3 separate regions of the Homo sapiens genome follow, and all the other regions are linked to region 3. The links are contacts of gene promoters, found by promoter capture Hi-C in human tissues and cell types (Jung and others, 2019). All regions are on one chromosome and are shown on one strand. The core of a region is centred on a gene start or on the middle of the fragment in contact, and the rest is flanking DNA. Distances in the headings are between cores, read along the strand shown.

The links. The method cuts DNA at HindIII sites, captures the fragments that hold promoters and counts their contacts. A contact is called where the count stands out against the background at its distance.
Region 1: a contact is called between a fragment that was not itself captured here and the fragment with the promoter of FSCN2 in region 3, in 1 of the 25 tissues and cell types used here (lymphoblastoid cells).
Region 2: a contact is called between a fragment that was not itself captured here and the fragment with the promoter of FSCN2 in region 3, in 2 of the 25 tissues and cell types used here (dorsolateral prefrontal cortex and lymphoblastoid cells).

What each region holds. Positions count from the first base shown.
Region 1 is chr17:81,585,256-81,589,519 of GRCh38, reverse strand. It overlaps NPLOC4 (NPL4 homolog, ubiquitin recognition factor), which reads left to right. Exons shown (of 17, transcript NM_017921.4): 12 at 416-576. Among named protein-coding and RNA genes, the nearest start is that of FAAP100, 35 kb to the right of the region's middle. The HindIII fragment of the contact is 8,680 bases long and covers 1-4,264 here.
Region 2 is chr17:81,563,066-81,567,486 of GRCh38, reverse strand. It overlaps NPLOC4 (NPL4 homolog, ubiquitin recognition factor), which reads left to right. Exons shown (of 17, transcript NM_017921.4): 15 at 1-70; 16 at 1,880-1,982. Among named protein-coding and RNA genes, the nearest start is that of FAAP100, 13 kb to the right of the region's middle. The HindIII fragment of the contact is 4,654 bases long and covers 1-4,317 here.
Region 3 is chr17:81,526,372-81,530,862 of GRCh38, reverse strand. It overlaps FSCN2 (fascin actin-bundling protein 2, retinal), which reads right to left and starts at 2,486. Exons shown (of 5, transcript NM_012418.4): 1 at 1,506-2,486. The coding sequence starts at 2,331. RefSeq lists enhancers at 1,512-2,037, 2,038-2,564. The HindIII fragment of the contact is 15,570 bases long and covers 1-4,491 here.

The DNA of each region.
Region 1 (4,264 bases), core at 1,696-4,195, 58 kb before region 3:
GTCACCCAGGCTGGAGTGCAGCGGCACAATCTCGGCTCACTGCAAGCTCCACCTCCCGGGTTCACGCCATTCACGCCATTCTCCTGCCTCAGCCTCCTGAGTAGCTGGGACTACAGGCGCCCGCCACCGCACCCAGCTAATTTTTTTATTTTTAGTAGGGACGGGGTTTCACCGTGTTATCCGGGATGGTCTCGATCTCCTGACCTCGTGATCCGCCTGTCTCAGCCTCCCAAAGTGCTGGGATTACAGGCATGAGCCACCGCACCCGGCCGACTACTGAACATTTTTTAACTCTTACCCCCGACAAACTCTTGAGGGTTTGTTTTTTCTGTTGATCAGAGGTGAAGAGTTAACAGATATGGACTGGTTTTGAATGCCGTTTGGTAGACTCTTTTTAAAGGTCTCTCTCTTGCAGGTGGTCCTGACAACCAAGTCCACTTTGAAGGGTACCAGGTGTCCAATCAGTGTATGGCACTGGTCCGTGATGAGTGTTTGCTGCCATGCAAGGACGCCCCGGAGCTTGGCTACGCCAAGGAGTCTAGCAGTGAGCAGTACGTGCCTGATGTGTTTTATAAGGTAAAAGTATGGTAAGAAAAAGAACTCTGTACATGGAGAATGGTGTGAACCTGTCTTGGACCTTTCTAATTTGGGTGCATTCTGCCTATAGCAGCCGTTTGTCAGCTGTGGTTGAACCCTGCTTGTCACTAAAGGCTTCTGTCACGTTTCTGGGGCTGGATATTCGCTACTCATGCTTCCATGGCGTAGGGCTTCTCACCAGAAGTGGAGCTACATGCACTGGCTTTGAGATCAGTAACACCAAATCCGACCATTGCAACACAGACAGTCTCAGTTTCTAAAGATGAGAAGATGGGTCCTTGGCATGGTGGCTCATGCCTGTAATCCCAGCATTTTGGGAGGCCAAGGCAGGAGGATTGCTTGAGTCCAGAACTTCAAGACCAGCCTGGGCAACATAGCGAGACTGTGTCTCTACAAAAAGTAGATGTGGTGGCATGAACTGTAGTCCCAGCTACTCAGGAGGCTGAGGTAGGAGGATCACCTGAGTCTGGGGAGGTCAAGGCTGCAGTTAGCCATGATTGTGCCACTGCACTACAGGCCTGGGTGACAGAGCGAGACCCTGTCTCAAGGATAGGGGTGGAGATGAGAAGACCGTGGGAGATGTTTCGGGACCTTTTTTAGAATCCTGCCAATTGCAGCTACTCAATGTTTTCTCTTTTTGGTGTTTCCCGCTCCTTTGGGGGCTCCAGTTACACATGTATTTGGCTGCCTGAAGTTGTCCCGCAGTTTACTGATACTCTGTTCATTTCATTTCAGTCTTCTTCAGTGTTTCATTTTGGATAATTTCTTTTAGTCTTCACATTCGTTGATCTGGACTTCTACAGTGTCTCATCTGCAGTTAATCTCATCCAGCATATTGTTCATCTCAGACATTGTAGTTTTCATTCCAGAAGTTTAAGTTGTTAATTGCTTCCTGTGTTTCTACTTAACTCTTTGAACATAGGGGATACAGTTATATTAACTTTTTTCGGCCGGGCGCGGCGGCTCATGCCTGTAATCCCAGCACTTTGGGAGGCCGAGATGGGCGGATCACAAGGTCAGGAGATTGAGACCATCTTGGCTAACACGGTGAAACCCCGTCTCTACTAAAAAAAAAAAATACAAAAAATAAGCCGGGCGTGGTAGCAGGCACCTGTAGTCCCAGCTACTCGGGAGGCTGAGGCAGGAGAATGGCGTGAACCTGGGAGGCGGAGCTTGCATTAAGATCGTGCCACTGCACTCCAGCCTGGGGAACAGAGCTAGACTCTGTCTCAAAAAAAAAAAAAAAAACAACTTTTTTCTTTGTTTCTTTTTTCCTTTTTTTTTTTTTTTTTAAAGAGACAGGGTGTCAGCTGGGCGCAGTGGCTCACGCCTGTAATCCCAGCCCTTTCGGAGGCTGAGGCGGGCGGATCACAAGGTCAGGAGATCGAGACCATCCTGGCTAACACGGTGAAACCCCGTCTCTACTAAAACTACAAAAAGTTAGCCGGGCATGGTGGCAGGCGCCTGTAGTTCCAGCTACTCGGGAGGCTGAGGCAGGAGAATGGTGTAAACCTGGGAGGCAGAGCTTGCAATGAGCCAAGATTGTGCCACTGCACTCCAGCCTGGGTGACAGAGCAAGACTCCGTCTCAAAAAAATAAAAAATAAAAAAATAAAGAGACAGGGTGTCACTATGTTGGCCAGGTTGATCTTGAACTCCTGGCCTCGAGCAGTCCTCCCGCCTCAGCCTCCAAAAGTGTTGGGGTTATAGGCGTGAGCCACTGCACCCGACCCATATTAACTTTTAATGTTCTTATATACTAACTCATATCACCTGCTTATTTCTGCATCAGTTTTAATTGATTGATTTTTTTTCTAATTATGGGTTAGCATATGTGGGTCTGCAGCTGCAATGTGTTTTCCGTGGACCGTCTGTCTGTCTGTCCTTGTTACTGGCGTGCTGAGTGTGTGTGGTGTGCTGCTCATTGTGTATCACAAGCCAGAGACTCCAGCAGGGTGTTTTCTTCCAGAGAGGGCTTTCCTTTCCTCCATGGGAAATGTGGTGGTGGTGAGCTGTCCATCTCCATCCAGGTGGCAAGTAGCTGGTCAGAGCCGAGTTGCATTTTGATGAGACTTCGTCTATTGTTGATCCTTCCCTTTTTCTACAGTGTAACCCCTTAGGGGTGCCATCTGAGAGCCTGGTAGAGCTCTTTGTGAGGTGACAGTCTTCCTTAAATCTTTGTCTCATTGGCCCTGAAAGGCTGGGAGATACAGTCTGTCCAGAAGTTTCTTGTTTTCCTCATGCCTCATACAGCTTAAATATGTAGGTATCCCATGTACCTTAAAACTTTTGCAAGCATCTTTTTTTTTTTTTTTTGAGACAGTTTTGCTCTGTTACCCAGGCTGGAGTACAGTGGCGCGATCTCGGCCCACTGCAGCCTCCGCCCCTTGAGTTCAAGCGATTCTTGTGCCTCAGCCTCCCGAGTAGTTGGGACTACAGATGTGTGCCACCTGCCCGGCTAATTTTTTGTGTTTTTAGTAGAGACTGTGTTTTACCATGTTGGCCAGGCCGGTCTTGAACTCCTGGACTCAAGTGATTTGCCCACCTTGGCTACCCAAAGTGTTGGGATTATAGGCGTGAGGCCACCCAAAGTGCTGGGATTACACCACACCCAGCTGCAAACATCTTGAGGGGAGAGAATGGCTGCATGTTTGAAATTCCTGTGTCTCCAGAGTCTCTGCCAGACCCTCATCTCCCAGCACTCACTTCCTGCAGGAGGGGAGGGAAGGGGCTTTCCATCTCAGTGCCACAGTCCCCTTTGCTGGGGGTCTTCTTATCTGGTTTGGATTCAGGCCCCTGCCTCCCCTTCCTCCCTCCTACCCCGTTGGGCAGGCTGGTCTCGAACTCCTGATCTCAAGTGACCTACCCACCTCAGCCTCACAGAGTGCTGGGATTACATGCATGAGACACTGTGCCTGACCTATATTTTTCTTTTGAAACAGCATCTCGCTCTGTCACCCAGACTGGAGTGCAGTGGCGTGATCTCAGCTTGTTGCAACTTCTGCCTCCTGGGCTCAAGTGATCCTCCTGCCTCAGCCTCCCGCGTAGCTGGGACTATAGGCGCACACTACCATGCCCACCTAACTCTTTTGTATTTTTAGTAGAATCAGGATTTCACCATGTTGCCCAGGCTGGTCTTGAACTCCTAGGCTCAAGCAATCTGCCTGCCTCAGCCTCCCACAGTGCTGGGATTATAGATGCTGGGATTACAGATGTGAGCCACTGCACCCAGCCTCTGATTTCTTTCTTTCCCCCCCCCCCCAGAAATGGAGTCTTCCTCTGTCTCCCAGGCTGGAGTGCAGTGGCCTGATCTCGGCTCACTGCAACCTCTGCCACCTGAGTTCTGCGATTCTCCTGCCTCAGCCTCCCGAGTAGCTGGGATTACAGGTGTGCACCACCACGCCTGGCTAACTTTTAAATTTTTAGTAGAGATTGGATTTCACCATGTTGGCCAGGATGGTCTCAAACTCCTGACCTCGTGATCTGCCCACTTTGGCCTCCCTAAGTGCTGGGATTACAGGCGTGAACCACCACACCCGGCCTTGATTTCTTAACGATGTGGATAATCAGCTATATGAGCACAGTTTTGGGAATAAAAGCAAACTTTTGTTTCCCTTTTAATCTTTGATGCTTCTCTGTCGTCGGTCATCTCCAGGAATCATGGATGT
Region 2 (4,421 bases), core at 741-3,240, 37 kb before region 3:
GTTCTTGGATACCATCTCAGATTTCCACCTCTTGCTGTTCCTGGTCACCAATGAAGTTATGCCTCTGCAGGTGCGTGTCCAAGTGTGGTGTCCACTTGAGCAAGTGGGCTTTGGCTGCAAAGAGACGCCTGTGTCTTGCTTTCTTTCCTCCCAGACCAGAGCATGATTGGGAAACTGGGTCAAAGCTCGGGGTCACAGGTTGTCCCCCTCATTTGTCCTATGGGCAGAGTGTAGGCAGCAGCTTTTCACAAGAAGCTTGTTGATAGAAAGATTAATTTTTTCACCTTTAGCATTTCCATTGAGTGTCTGCACCTCTGTGAGGAAGTACGGTTTCATCTGTTACAATCGAATGGGAAGCAGAGGTGATTTAGCTCTGCCTCCAGCATTAGAGTTAGACAGTTTAAAAAATTCCTGTTCTAACAGTTTCAGAGTCACAGCCTCTGCTTTTTACTCATATCTCCCCTCCTCCTAAATCAACTCTGGTTTTATTGCCTTGGCCCAGAAGGCTTGGCCAGCTTCCAGACCCCAAGCTCACAGCTGCACAGTTGGCATTTTTAAGAGACACCGTTGGGGGAGAAGAGGGCGAGTGCTTTGCAGAAGTGGCTGCTCTGGGTAGTGGGGGCCAGTGGGCAGCAGCCCCCAGGAGGTTCTTGCCGTGTGTAGGGGTCCGACTTTGGCTTTTTCTTCACTGTTCAAGCCAACAGGAAATGCCAAAGAGAAAGGAGCAAATTCTTTCTGAGCTGCTCCGCCACTGACTCAGAACTTTTCCCTGAAGGAGACAGAATAGAGAGGCTCCTCCTCCCCCGGCCTTTCTCTGTCAGGAAGCCTATAGCTGTTCTTGTATCCTGCTAGTTTATTTTGTGTCTGTATTTTGTCTCAAAACCACTCACTCGGGTATTTGACATCAGGCACCCTGTGCCTCTTCCCTGCCTGTGCCTTCCCTAGTCAGCCCAGGGAACTGCACCTCCTGCTCCGAGGTTCAGCTGCTGCCCATCTGTCTGGACAGGTGGTGAAAGGTGAGGCTCCCTCTACACCAGAGCCACCTTGCTAGTATACTGCACTATTTTTGCAGTCATCTGTTGGAAGACATTCTCTGGAGGTACTGAGAGCTCCTGAAGGCTTTATCCGTTTCTCATATATGAATTATTTTTTTTTAAGACGGAGTCTCGCTCTGTTGCCCAGACCGGAGTGCATTGGCGCAATCTTGGCTTACTGCAACCTCCGCCTTCTGGGTTCAAGCGATTCTCCCGCCTCAGCCTCCCGAGTAGCTGGGATTACAGGTGCCCGCAACCACGCCTGTCTAATTGTTGTATTTTTAGTAGAGACGGGGTTTCGCCACGTTTGCCAGGCTGGTCTCAAACTCCTGACCTCGTGATCTGTCTGCCTCTGCCTCTGAAAGTGTTGGGATTACAGGCGTGAGCCACTGCGCCCATCCTTAATGCATTAATCCCCTGCAGTTTGACTCGGAAGGCTAGGATAGAGAGTGCATTTTTCCAGACACGAGAGGAGAAAGAGGCAGAGGGATGAAATGTGAGGGAGGAGGACACGTCTCACAGTCAAGACTTCCGCCCTCCATCCCAGCCTCCAGGACGAGAGGCATGAGCTCCTATCCTCCGGGCTGTTGAGCACCGTCAGCACAAGGCAGAGGCACAGATGCCCGCTTGGGCCTATTTGGGAAGAATTTAAATTCTAGTTCAATTTAGCACTTGCGTTTATAGATGTAAGTTGTGGCAGTTTGCATTTTATAGTGATAGCCTGTAAGATTTTTAAAATGTCCTCAGAAATACGTCTTGATGTTGGGGAGAAAGAAACCTGTTCTAGCAGGAAGCTGCTCACCTTAGGCACAGCGAAGAGGAACCTTCCTTTTGGCTTCTTGTAGGACAGCATCAGCTTGCTGCTGGAGGCCGTGCGGACCAGAAATGAGGAGCTCGCCCAGACATGGAAGAGGTCTGAGCAGTGGGCCACCATCGAGCAGCTGTGCAGTGAGTACCCCCACCCCCTGCCCCGGCACCCCGTGGCTGGGGCCGGAGAGCAGCCCACTCTGCACAGCTCCCCACTGCCGGTGGTGCCCTGGATTCCGCACCCAGCTGCATCCTGGCAGGTGCCATCGGCAATGCAACGAGTAGAGACTCGGCCTCCCTGCCAGGCACGTGGCAGGCTCCGGTGATGGAGCAGACATGTTGTCCAGGCCGTACGTCTTAGGTACACAGCCCTGTAAATTTTATAAACCTGTACATCAGAGATACTAATCTCCAGGCATCCTAGGAGCACTTTGAACATCATTGTCTTAAGAGAATCAGAAACTTTATGGAAGCGCCGGAAGCGTGGGACCTTTTGGTCTCCTTGAGAATTTCCCTTTAGTGCTTAAAGCTGTAAGGAGGAGAAGCCTGCAGCATCCATGTTGTTGCTGGTGGACACTACGGAACGGACCGCAGGCATTGCGTGTCTTCCGGACCCTCAGTCACCAGGTCCTGAACGATTCCCCACTCGTGAGAACCTTCTGTCAGCATTGCTGCAGGGACTCCTCACGCACCGTGGTGCCTCGTGCAGCCCGAGTGCCCTGAGTCCCTGCAGCTGAGAGCACCAGAGTGCCCGGGAGCTACGGCCCTGGACAAATGCTAGAATCCTTCTGTTAACACAGCCTTCAAAAGACACATCAAACACCTTTATACCATTTCCTGTTTTTTTTTTTTTTTTTGAGACGGAGTTTGGCTCTTGTCACCCAGGCTGGAGTGTGGTGGCGTGATCTTGCCTCACTGCAACCTCCACCTCCTGGGTTCAAACGATTCTCCTGCCTCAGCCTCCTGAGTAGCTGGGACTACAGGCATGTGCCACCATGCCTGGATAATTTTTGTATTCTTAGTAGAGCCAGGGTTTCACCATGTTAGCCAGGCTGGTCTCGAACTCCTGACCTTGTGATCTGCTTGCCTCTGCCTCCCAGAGTGTTGGGATTACAGGTGTGAGCCACCACGCCCAGCCGAGGTTTTCTTTTCACACAATTCTTTGTTTATTATTTTTATTTTTGTAGAGACAGGGTCTCACTCTATTGCCGAGGCTGGAGTGCAGTTGCACAATCGTAACTCACTGCAGCCTCAAACTCCAGGCTCAAGTGATCTTTCTGCTTCAGCCTGCTGAGTAACTGGGACCACAGGCTTGCAACACCACACCCAGCTAATTCTTGGGGCTTTGTTGTTGCTTTTTATTTGTTTGTTTTTTAAAAATAATTTTAACTTATTTTAGATTCACAGGGTACATGTGCAGGTTTGTCACCTGGGTATATTGCCTGATGCTGAGGTTGGGGTATGATTGATCACATCACCCAGGTACTACACATAGTACCTAATAGTTTTTCAGCCCGCCCTGCTCTTTGTGTGTGTGTGTGTGTGTGTGTGTGTGTGTGTGTTTTGAGCTGGAGCCTCACCCTGTCTCCCAGGCTGGAGTGCAGTGGCGCAATCTTAGCTCACTGCAAACTCTGCCTCCTGGGTTGAAGCAATTCCCCTCCCTCAGCCTCCCGAGTAGCTGGGATTACAGATGTGTACCACCACACCTGGCGTTGCCATCTTTATGTACGTGAGTACCCATGTTTAGCTCCCACTTATAAATGAAAACATGTAGTATTTGGTTTGCTGTTCCTGCATTAGTTTGCTTAGAATAATGGCCTTCAACTGCATCCATGTTGCTGCAAAGGACATGATTTCATTCCTTTTTATGGCTGCAAAATTTTTTAATATTTTTGTATCAATGAGGTCTCACTGTGTTGCCCAGACTGGTCTCAAACTTTGGCCTCAAGCATTCCTTGCACCTCAGCCTCACAAAGTCCTGAGATTATACCTGGGAGCCACTGCACCCAGCCCTTTGATGCAGTTCTAACAATGACACCAGTCTTTTTTTTTTTTTTCTTTTTTGTTTCCCTTTTAGAGACAGGGTTTCACTCTGTTGCCTAGGCTGGAGTGCAGTGGAGTGATCATAGCTCACTACAGCCTTCAATTCCTGAGCTCAAGCGATCCTCCTGCATCAGCTTTCGGAGTACCTAGGAGTATAAACATGAGCCACTACACCCAACTAATGTTTTTGGTTGGTGTTTTTTTTTTTTCTTTAAGAGATAGGGTTGGCCGGGCCCGGTGGCTGGCTCACACCTGTAATCCCAGCACTTTGGGAGGCTGAGGCAGGTGGATCACAACGTCAAGGGATTGAGACCATCCTGGCCAACATGGTGAAACCCCATTTCTGTTAAAACTACAAAAATTAGCTGGGCATGGTGGCGAGCGCCTGTAATCCCAGCTACTCAGGAGGCTGAGGCAGGAGAATCACTTGACCCAGGAAGCGTAGGTTGTAGTGAGCTGAGATCGTGCCACTGTACTCCAGCCTGGGCGACAGAGCAAGACTCTGTCTCAAAAAAAAAAAAAAGATGTGGTCTTGCC
Region 3 (4,491 bases), core at 1,237-3,736:
GGAAGGAAGGGCCATGGCCGTGCATCCACAGTTGAATTCTCACTCCTGGGACCCTGTCACTGCTGGGACAGGCCCGAGGATGCCAACTGCAGGTGCAGGACCCCATAGCCATGGCTGGGCTCCCCTCTCCATGCACAGGGTGGGGCCTCTGCCATCTGGCCCCAGAGTGTCAGTGTACCCAGGGGGCCTGGACATCCGTCAGGGTGGGGGCTTGGTGGGCACCTGGGAGCTGCCAGGAGACAGGGGAGCTCTCCTTGCCCAGCTGATGCTGGTCTGGAAGGACCTGAGTTGGGAGGAGGAGCTCCATGCACCCGGCTCTCCCCACCTCGCCTTTTCAGACCACCTCCGAGCCACTCTGGGGTGCATGGAGCCAGGAGCCCAGGTGGGTAGTGACTGCCCGGGCCAGGGCTTTTCCCTCAGAGCTCAGCTTGTGGGGAAGGAGGAACTGCTGGGGTTCACCCCATAGGCGGTGGAGGGAGTCACACAGACAGGCAACTGGTGACCTGGGAACTGGGGAGAGCCAGGCCACGCCCCACTGGGGCAGGGAGGTGCCTCCCCACCAGGAGCCCAGGCCCCGGGTAAAGCTGCCTGCCCACCGTGTCCTCCATCACTGGAGCTGACCTTAAGCCCCCCCACTCCTGAGGACACGAGGCTCCACTGGTCAGGCACGTGGTGGTGCTATCCCCGCCCGATCCCCAGCTCCCTGCCCTACCCTGGGCTCCTCCCCAATTTCCTTTAAAGTCCAGAAAATGCAGCCGGGCACGGTGGCTCACGCCTGTAATCCCAGCACTTTGGGAGGCCGAGGTGGACAGATCACAAGGTCAGGAGATCAAGACCATCCTGGCTAACACAGTGAAACCCCGTCTCTTCTAAAAAATACAAAAAATTAGCCGGGCGTGGTGGCGGGCGCCTGTAGTCCCAGCTACTCGGGAGGCTGAGGCAGGAGAATGGCGTGAACCCGTGAGGCGGCGCTTGCAGTGAGCCGAGATCACGCCACTGCGCTCCAGCCTGGGTGACAGAGCGAGACTCTGTCTCAAAAAATAAATAAATAAATGAAGTCCAGAAAATGGGGTGGAGAAAAAGAAGGGGAGATATGGACCCCCCACAGCCTCCTGCCCACATGCCCCTCATGGCACCAGGCCAGGCTGTGGGCCTCCTGCCCCTGCTGGGCACTGCCCATCGCCTGGCCCACACCTCTCCAGTCTCAGACTCCGCAGCTGCCCAGGGCTTGGCTGAGACATTCTCCAGCTATGCTGAGAAAGGCCAGGAACCCTTGCCTCTGACCCTGAAGCCACCACCCCTCAGTGGGGGTCGCCTGGGCATGGCCCGAGGCCCACCCACCTACACCCTGAGTGGCCACACATGTCCCACATGGACCCCCAGCCCAGAACAGACATGTGAACGCACAGACACGATACCACTCCCCGTGAGACCCCCACGGCCTCCTCCCTGAAGCAGGGGGGTCCCAGCACCCCTCAGGAGGTCGCCACCTGTGCCCTCCCTACCTTGCCGCACAGAGACGTAGCGGTGGTTGGCAGCCACCAGCACCACCTGTGGGTGACTCTCCTCCAGATCAAAGAGCTCATCCTTGCCAGGTCGCGTGTTTCGGCCGGCCTTGAGGGTGCCTGCGGGCCCCACGGGTGCCAGGTAGTGGCCGTCGCAGTCCTTGAAGGCCAGCTTGCCCGCCTTGAACTCCAGCGTGTAGCAGGCACGGGGCTCAGGCTCCCAGACCAGACGGCCGTCGCTGCGCAGGTAGCGGCTGTCACAGGACTTGAGGCAGTACCGTCGGCTCCGGAAGATGAGGGTGAGGAGGGCGTCCACGCCCCAGGGCTTGTCTCCGTCTGCGGCCATCTCGTCCTCCCGCGGGCACAGGTGCACGTAGCGCCGCCGGCTCACGCTCAGCAGGTGGGCCTGCGGGTGGATGGCCAGGTGCACGGTCCACAGCTCGGCCGGGGAAACGGCTGTGGCGAAGCAGGACAGCTGGTCCTCGGTGCCTCCGAAGAAGCGGCCGTGCGGCTCGGACCGCAGCACCCAGCGCCCATCTGGCTGCGGCAGGACCAGGAAGCGGCAGTCACGGCCCGGCTGCTCTGCCTCACAGGCCACGCGCCCGTCCTCTTCTGCCGACAGGTAGCGGCCCAGGTGGCTGCTGCGGAGCAGCACAGCCGTGCCTTGTCCTGGGTCGGGTTCCAGCACCCAGGTCTGCTTCCTCTTGAGGCTGGGTGCCGAGGCATTGACCTTGAAGCCGAAGCTCTCAGCTGTCAGGTAGCGGTCAGTGTCGTTGACGAGGCCAAACTGGATCTTCAGCACCTGGTGCAGGCCGTTCGTCGGCATCTTCAGGCTGGCCGGGTCCCCGGAGGGGCCTGGGATGCGCCCTCTGAGTGCTCACGGCCCCCGCGGTCCCCCAGAAGCCCGGGTCGGCTCGGCTGGCCCACAGCCCCCAGACCCAGCCGGCGTCACGAACCCCCTGCCTGCTCTGACCCGCCTCTGACCCGCGGCAGCAGCCTGGGCAGCTCTTAGAGGGCCCGCGGGCAGCAGAGGGCGGGCGGGGAGGGCGGATCAGAGACGTGCGGCTTAGGAGCAGCACCTTTCATTACCCTCAGCTTGGATTTCAGCCACTCCCGGATTGCACAGAGCCCAGAGCCCGAGGGCCTGAGGGCCTACGGGGCTGGAGGGCAGGGTTGATCCCCTTTTCCTCATAGCGTGGGCCCAGCGCCCCTCTTCACGGCCCTGCACCTTTTGGCCTCTCTCGTTCCTGCCCCCCTCCTCCAACCCCGTGTGGGCTCCCGGCCCGGCCCGGCCCAGCCCTTCCGGATGTAGAAGCCGTCCAGTGGAACGCTCACGGCTCGGCCGCAACCTGATCGCCGCCCGTACCCTCGGTGGCCGCCAGGCCCTCAGCTGGATCCAGTTACTGCTTCTCTGATTCCTGCTGCCAGAAGCATAGCAAGGACCCCAGCCACAACCTGCAGCCCAGGTCGCCTCCACCCCAGACCGGCCTCTGGCCACACTGCTCAGGCCCCAGAATGACGCACTGGACTGCCACCCACGCTGGAGGGTGGAACACAGTGGCCGTGCAGCCCTGCAGGCAGGGGGCAGAGTCAGAGGCCCTGGGCCAGGCTGGCCCGGCCCCAGCGCACTCCTGTGCGCTCTGAGCAAGTTGCTGGGCCCTGAGGCTGCCCCCTCCTCTGCTGTGAGCTGGAGTGAAGCCAGCCTCACTTCACTTTGGAGTCTTTACGGATGTGGATCCAGGAGGCTGGTGGGACGATGTCCACCCCATGCTCCCAGCGGTGGCCCTTGGAATCTGGGAGAGGATGAAGGCCAGCAGGCCGGGAGAGACTGGAAGTGGTCACACCTGTCTACAGCACCTCCTTGCTCTGGGCCACCTGGCTGTACCCCTTCCCCAGAGCCTGAGGGGCACTGGGCCCTGCTCACCGTGCCTGGCTCCTGCACCTGCCTCAGGGGCTTGGGGCCAAGTAGTGAAACCAGAGCTGGCCACCCTGGGCCAGGGCCAGCCCGGTGTCCTCTTCCTCATAACAGCGTGTGACCCTCCCGTCTCCCTGGGGACTGGGAACAGGGGCCACAGGCCCCTTCCGGTCATGGCCTGGAGTCACTCCCCTGTCCTCCTGGGCCCATCTCCTGAGTGGCCATCATGGGGGTCCCCGTAGGGCAGGAGTCTAGCCAAAAGCAAGGGGCCTGGGCTGGGCACCTGTGGGCTCCAGAGGTGGGCAGGGCCATGGTGGCAGAGTGTGCACAGACTCAGGGGCTCTTCCTCTGTCCTCTAAGCCCTGGACAGCAACCGTGCCAGGCACCTGCAGACACAGGGGAGGAAAAAGAGGAGACCTGTCCCCACTGTCCCCACGCTCAGGGGCCAGGGTGGGGGCAGAGAGACTCCCACATGCAAATACCCCCCAGGGCACAGCGTACGCCACGACGCCAGGGCCTGCTCTCGCCTCTCCCTGTGTGCTGGCCTCATCCGCCTCTATGATTCACACGCATTTATGAGGCACCAACTGTGTGCGAAACCAGGTCACGTGCCAGGCACCATCCTGGGGAGACGCAGTCTGGGGTTTCACCCCCTTCCCAGAGACGATGCCCACACACACTCTCCCACAGTTTCCAGGGGACTGAGGACACAGGCCTAGCACCGATGCCAGGGAACTGTCTCTGGTTTAGGGATACAAGCTAGGGTGCTGCCTGCACCTCACTTTCCCATTGGCTCTTCTTTTTAAAAAACTTTTTTCTTGAAATAGGGTCTCGCTCCTCACCCAAACTGGAGTCCAGTGGCGCAATCTTGGCTCACTGGAACCTTCGAGCTCAAGCAGTCCTCCTGCCTCAGCCTCCCAAGTAGCTGGGATTACAGGCACTTGCTACCGTGCCCGGCTAATGTTTGTATTTTTAGTAGAGATGGGGTTTCACCATGTTGCCCAGGCTGGTCTCGAACTCCTGACCTCAAGTGATCTGCCCGCCGCGGCCTCTGAAAGTGCTGGGATGATA